Linked DNA regions of Homo sapiens: region 2 is linked to region 1. The links are contacts of gene promoters, found by promoter capture Hi-C in blood cells and fetal thymus (Javierre and others, 2016). All regions are on one chromosome and are shown on one strand. Each heading gives the region's core, a stretch centred on a gene start or on the middle of the fragment in contact. The rest is flanking DNA. Distances are from core to core; before and after follow the strand shown. Region 1 holds the start of CHRNA10 (cholinergic receptor nicotinic alpha 10 subunit). Region 2 overlaps PGAP2 (post-GPI attachment to proteins 2).

Region 1 (3,218 bases), core at 255-2,754:
GTAGTTGGCAAAGAGGTCACGGAACAGCTTGAGAGCCAGCCGGCCCTCAGCTCCCAGGCACTCTGGAGGGTCAGTAAGGAGGGTTGTCCATCCCAGGCCCTAGTCCCAGGGCCTCTGCTCACACCCTCCACTCCCAGGGCTGGGGCCCTGTCCTTATGAGTGTCCTCCTGGTGTCTGCCTTCTCTTGCTCTAGCTGTGGCTCTAGTTCCTCCCTGGCCTGCCTGCAGGGACACATGAGGTAAAGGCCATGGAGTGAACTGGTACTATCTTCTGGCGCCAGGCTGACAAATTTCTCCTCCACCCTCCCCTTTTCAAGGACCTGGAGTCTGCCTGCCTCTCCACAAATGCTAGAGGGGCCCAAATAAGCCACAAGAGTCCAGACTTTCACCCAGGGATTCTAAACCCCACTGCTCTGCCCCCTCCAGTATCTCTCAAACCTGTTTCCACTTCTCCATCTCGAGCTGGTTTCTTCAAAACTTCTGATGCGATGGAACACTCCCTCACTCTGAAAACACACTTCCCCAGGCTTTACTGACACAAATTTTCCTCAATCCCTGACCTAAACATTGTTCCCATGAATCCTGTCCTTGGCTCCCATCTTTTTCTTCATCCCAGATTTTTCTCCTGAGCTCCAGACCCCAATAGAGTACAGTCCACTCCTGAGTTTCCCACAGGCACCTTCAACTCTGAGGGTCCAAAATATGAACTCGCTTCCTCCCTCCATGCTCTGAAACCTGCTTCCTATCCCATGTTCCCTATCTCAGCAAATAGCATGCCCTCAGCTTCAACAGTGACCTTAGTTGGAAATCTGGGAATTATCCCTCCCTTCTCCCTCTGCTGCCTCCTCCTCGGGGAATCCAGTTAATCTCCAGATCCTGTCAGATCATTCAAATCCTCCAGATTTTGCGAAACATCGTCTTGAGTCTACCCTCTCCCCTCCAGGTCAGGGCCCTCCCTTCACTGTCTCCCTTTCCCCAAAGGCTCACCTTCTTCTACCCCTCCCATGCCCCAGGACCACGCTTTTAAGCATGCACATCTGACCAGGCTAGTATGCTGCTGAAACCTTTCAGTGCTCCCCGTCATCTGCAGGAGAAAGACCTGGCCTGGCCGGCAGGCCCTTCAACATCTGGCCCCTCTGATTTTCCCAGCCCTGTCTCTGGAAGCTCCCCGCTCACTGTTTCCACCCTAGCCAGGCAAGTCTCCTCTCACGCACTTCAGCACCCCTCTCCTCCACACTCCCCAAATAGAGAGCTTGTTCTCAGAACAGGTACTGAGGAGAAACACAAGAGAGACTACATGGAAAGGGATTTTGGGAGAACAGGAATAGTAGCACCACCAGGAGAGGCCAGGGCTGGTGTACTGAGCTTCATACCTGCAGGGAGTAGAAACAGAAGCAGAAGGCCCAGGCTGAGGTGGTGGCTCCGGAGCCCCATGGCCCTGGCACTGCAAGAGCGGGGGCAGGTCTCTGGATGTGAGGCCTCCTGGCCAGACCTAGGGCAAAATTAGGCCCAGCTGGCAAGGATGGTGTGGACAGTACCTAGAAGTCAGAAGTAAGACAGATCTCTGGTGGGTCCAGCCACCCTCCAGCGAGCCCTGCAGCCCCTCCAGTCTTCTGACCCTCCAATTTGTGCCTGCCCCTGGATTTTAGTACTTGGTCTTTCTTCTTCTCTGCTGGTCCTTGCCTCTTCTGGCCTCTGCCTCTGCCCTTTCCTATGCTCCCCACCTGCTTTGTCTTTCACTCTGTTTCTGCTTCCTTCTCTTTCCGTCTGTAACTTTCTTGGTCTCTCTGCCTCCCTGACTCTGATCATCCCCTGCCTGCCTCTTTCCACTCTCTCTCCCTTTCTCCTACTTCTGTTTCATCCCTCATTCCTTCCTTCTTCCATTCCCCACACCTGGACTCTAGATGGGCCTGCTGCTCTCTCAGCAGAACAGGGACCAGGGACTCCTCCCTTGATCAGCCCAGAGTCGTCCGAGGCACAGGACCACAGCCCCTCCCTCTCTGCCCTTTCATTAGCTTAATTACACCGTGCCTATGACAACAGAGCAACGGAAACTGATACCTCGGGCCTCTGGGGCTTGAATTATTCAAACTCTGTAAAGCAGCACACAGACTCAGCTCAGGCCCATCCTCGGGTGTTGGAGAGTACAGGTATGCTGGGTCAGGGTATGTGGAAGACCAGGGCTTAAGAGTGTGAGGGGCCAGGGTCAGTGGATGGATAACTGTCCTCTCATCTTAGCCACCATTGCCTGAATTCTGGAGGTGGAGGTTTGCCTTAGACCTGCAGCTCTCCTTGCAGTGCGGGACTAGACACTCCAGGCTAGGCACTTTGGGTCAAGCAAGCCCTTCCCTCCTGGTGGGAGTAGTGCTGAGCCTCAGGCCACTCCAGATGACCCAGTGGAGCAGAAGATGGAGCCCACATCCTCTCCTCAGACTCCCTGCAGTCATTCCCATCTGAGCCTGTTTTTTCACCTTGCCCAAACACTGTGGGCAGTGTGGGAGAAGAGGGCAAGCATTCAGTCACTTTCGGCCCTGTCTTATGAGCGCTCTCACTTGGGTAAGATATTTAAACTCTCTGGGTTTCTGTTCTCTCAATCTGGTAATGGGATTAACAGTACTCATCTTGAAAACTGCAAGGATTTAAATGAGATAACCTGATAGTGCAAGGCACTGTCTAGCACGGTGCCTAAGGTACAGCAGGTCATCAACAATATTTACACTGTGGTCCCAGTAAGGTAGCCAGGCTATCCTCAGGTCACAGGTATTTATCATGCACAGAGTTTTGATTATTTTTGTTCAAGCTGACCAGTTGCCTGACCAACAGCAGCACATACTTCCCTGGCAATCACATCCATAGCCATGACTTTGGGCATCGTGGATATGCCAGTGATTCCCTGCACTTTCTCCACCCGTCCCCTCTCCCAGGTACTCTGCTTATCTCCAACCACCTTCCTAACACACAAGCGTTTCACATCATTTCAAATTGAAATCCAACATTCACTTATTCAAGCTAGTAGAGGGGAACTGTCCTTAACTTGTTAAAGAACAACTACCAAAATACCCTACAGCCATCCTGCCACCTCAGCCTCCTGAATAGCTGGAACTAAAGGTGCACACCACCCAGCTAATTTTTGTTCATTTTTTAAGAGACAAGGTCTCCCTATGTTGCCTAGGCTGGTCTTAAACTCCTGGGCTCAAGGGATTCTCCCTCCTCAGCCTC
Region 2 (3,218 bases), core at 197-2,696, 150 kb after region 1:
TGTACAAAAAATGCAAAAAAATTAGCTGGGTGCCCTGGCATGCCCCTGTAGTCCCAGCTACTTGGGAGGCTAAGGCAGGAGAATTGCTTGAGGCTGGGAGGTGGACATTTCAGTGAGCTGAGTTCACACCATTATACTCCAGCCTGGGTGACAGGAGTAAAACCCTGTCTCAAAAACAAAACAAAATAAAAAAAAAAAAACAGCAGGCTGTGCACTGTGGCTCATGCCTGTAATCCCAGCACTTTGAGAGGCCGAGGTGGGAGGATCACCTGAGGTCAGGAGTTTGAGACCAGCCTGGCCAACATGGTAAAACCCTGTCTCTACTAAAAAATACAAAAAAATTAGCTGGGCATGGTGATGTGTGCCTGTAATCCCAGCTACTCAGGAGGCTTGAGGCAAGAGAATTGCTTGAACCCGGGAGGCAGAGGTTGCAGTGAGCCAAGATCGTGCCAAAAAAAAAAAAAAAAACAATAACAGTGCAAGGGAGTTGGGGGTTAGAGGGAGGTGATAGGGGAAGAGAAGGGATTGGAATGGGCAGGAGAGATCATGAGAGGAAGGAGGCAGATTGGAAAGGAAGCCAGGACTGAGGAGGTAAAATGAGGCCAGAAGATGGGAGATGTAACAAGTGGCTTTGGCCCAGACTCGGGGACTGACCTTGGAGGATCCATCCTCAGCTCTGATCTGGATCCTCAAGCTTTGTTTCTCCTACTGGCAGCCCCAGGCCCCACCACCTGTATCCACTCAGGGATCTGCCAGCCAGAAACCTGGATGGACTTCTGTCTCCCACAATCAGTCCACTAGGCCTTTCCTGGGGGCCCAGGGATAAAGGTTCTGTTGTGCTAGGGGCATGGAATTAGATATGGACTTGCCCTTAACATCTCAATGTTACAAGAATCAATCCTTAGACACAGACTGTCACAACACAGTGGTCTGGGGTTCCTATTATGATTAAAAAAAGAGTACAGTGACTGTGGGGCTCAGAGGAGGCACTTCACGCAGCTTGGACATTGGGGATCACTTTCTTCTTGGAGGAGGGGACATTGTTGCTCTGTGGTAAAGAAGGCTCTTTGTGAATGCCAGGCCGGCAACTTTTGATATTATCCAGAGGGCAATTTTTATCAAGAGCTTTGGAAAGATTTTAGGCAGGAAAGGGACATGATCAGATTTGTGCTTTACATATTTATTTATTTAGAGACAGGATCTCACTCTGTCTCCCAGGCGGGAGTACAGTGACCTGATCTTGGCTCATTGCAGCCTTGACCTCCTGGGCTCAGGTGATTCCTCGCCTCAGCCTCAGCCTTGGGTAGCTGGGACTACAGGTGCATGCCACCATGCCTGGCTAATTCTTATATTTTTTTTGTAGAGATGGGGTTTTGCCATGTTGTGTAGGCTGGAGATTTGTGCTTCAGAAGACCACTCTAGCTTCTGAGTGGAGAACAGCTTTAAGGTCAGGGGCAAGAGTAGGGTATAAGGAGGCTGGTGCAGTAGCTCATGCTCCTGGGGGAACCAGAGCCAAGATGCGGACTGTGAGCGTAGAGAGGAGGGATGGAGTCTAGAGAGGTGTAGAAAGTGGGATTGACAGCAAATGGAGTTTTTGTGCAGTTGGCATGGGGCGGGGGACAGTACGGTAGCTAGAGAAGGCATCTATAATGTGGGGGGACTTTTACCTGAGGCCAAAGGAATGAATCTTATGGTGAAATCTGAGGTGCCGTGCAAGGGGATTTTGGGGAACCCTGCTTTATACCATATGAGTTTCTGATCTACTGTCCTATCAGAAAGGGCTTATCCTCCCGTCTCTCAGTACTCTTAGCTCTGGGCACATGGGGAAGTTTGGGGTGAGCTGTGTACCCAGTTTCTCATAGCTCCTGATGTTGCTTGTTGCTGGTGCAGTCGATGAGTGGGGAACTTGTGTGCTGGAATGGGGCTGGCGGTAGGAGTACATGTACCTGATTGTGTGTATGTGTCTGTGTGTATATGTGCGTGTGTGTGTACATGATGGAAGAGACAGTCCCTGCTCTTAGAATCCCACCCCCATCCCTAATCTGAGAGAAGCTCATGAAGACAGGACCAGCAGCCACAATGCCCTAACTCTCTCTTCCTCCTGAGGCCTTCCCCAAACTCTGTATCATTTCTCCCCAGTACCTGTTCCCAACAGTGGTCAGGGTTCAGGGCCCTTGAATCCTTTAGGCTCTCCCAGTCAAGCTTTAGATGGTGGTCCTGTTTTCCTTAAAGTAGCTGAGACTGGGGAGTAGTTTTCAGATTGAATATTCCAGGAAGCAGAGGCAATGCTCTGACTAACTCAACTCAGAGTAACAGCAAGGCAGAAAAATCAAGTAAGGAGACTTGGAGGTTCCTGCGTCTCTCCCATAAGCAGACCTTCCCATGCTCTGTGGCCATGTAGCTCACAGCGTTTTTGCATTCTTTACAGGAAATTTTGTCTTCTGAAAGCCATCACTTATTGTACTTAACTGCATGCCAGATACTGCAGATGTTTTATACACGTTATATTTAGAATTCATATGGCTTGGCATGTTGGCTCACGCCTGTAATCCCAGCACTTTGGCAGGTGAATCACTTAAGGTCAGGAGTTCAAGACCAGCCTGGCCAACATGGTGAAACCCCATCTCTACTAAAAATACAAAAATTAGAGGCCAGGCGTCTGTAATCCCAGCTACTCGGGAGACTGAGGCAGGAGAATTGCTTGAACCTGGGAGGTGGAGTTTGCAATGAGTTGAGACCGCACCATTGCACTCCAGCCTAGGCAACAAGAGTGAAACTCCATCTCAAAAAAAAAAAGAAAAATTAGCTGCGTGTGGTGGCACCTCTAGTCCCAGCTACTCAGCAGGCTGAAGCACGAGAATCACTTGAACCTGGGAGGCGGAGGTTGCAATGAGCCAAGATTATGCCACTGTACTCCAGCCTGGGTGACAGAGCGAGACCCTGTCTCAAATAAATAAATAAATAAAGAGAATTCATAAACACCCTGCAAGGTAGGTGGTGTTATACCCATTTTACCAATGAGGAAATTGGAGCTCAGAGAGGTGAAGTGACTTGCTCAAGGTCACCCAGCTAATAAAGGCAGAGCTGGGATGCAGACTCAGCTTTGTGCAGTTCCTGAGCCTCTATGCTGCCCCTTCACATTACTCAGAGTGCATGTCTGAGCCTGGTCTCAAGCTATGATATCTCAAGCTATGGTATCTCAAGCTATGGCTTTGAGA

What was found. The method cuts DNA at HindIII sites, captures the fragments that hold promoters and counts their contacts. A CHiCAGO score of 5 or more calls a contact.
Region 2: a contact is called between a fragment that was not itself captured here and the fragment with the promoter of CHRNA10 in region 1, in 2 of 17 cell types (M2 macrophages and M1 macrophages). The highest score is 5.6, in M2 macrophages.

What each region holds. Positions count from the first base shown.
Region 1 is chr11:3,669,880-3,673,097 of GRCh38, forward strand. It overlaps CHRNA10 (cholinergic receptor nicotinic alpha 10 subunit), which reads right to left and starts at 1,505. Exons shown (of 5, transcript NM_020402.4): 1 at 1,373-1,505; 2 at 1-62. The coding sequence starts at 1,433. The HindIII fragment of the contact is 7,798 bases long and covers 1-3,218 here.
Region 2 is chr11:3,817,876-3,821,093 of GRCh38, forward strand. The region is part of intron 3 of PGAP2 (post-GPI attachment to proteins 2); the gene reads left to right. Among named protein-coding and RNA genes, the nearest start is that of PGAP2, 11 kb to the left of the region's middle. RefSeq lists a silencer at 2,084-2,275. The HindIII fragment of the contact is 1,508 bases long and covers 693-2,200 here.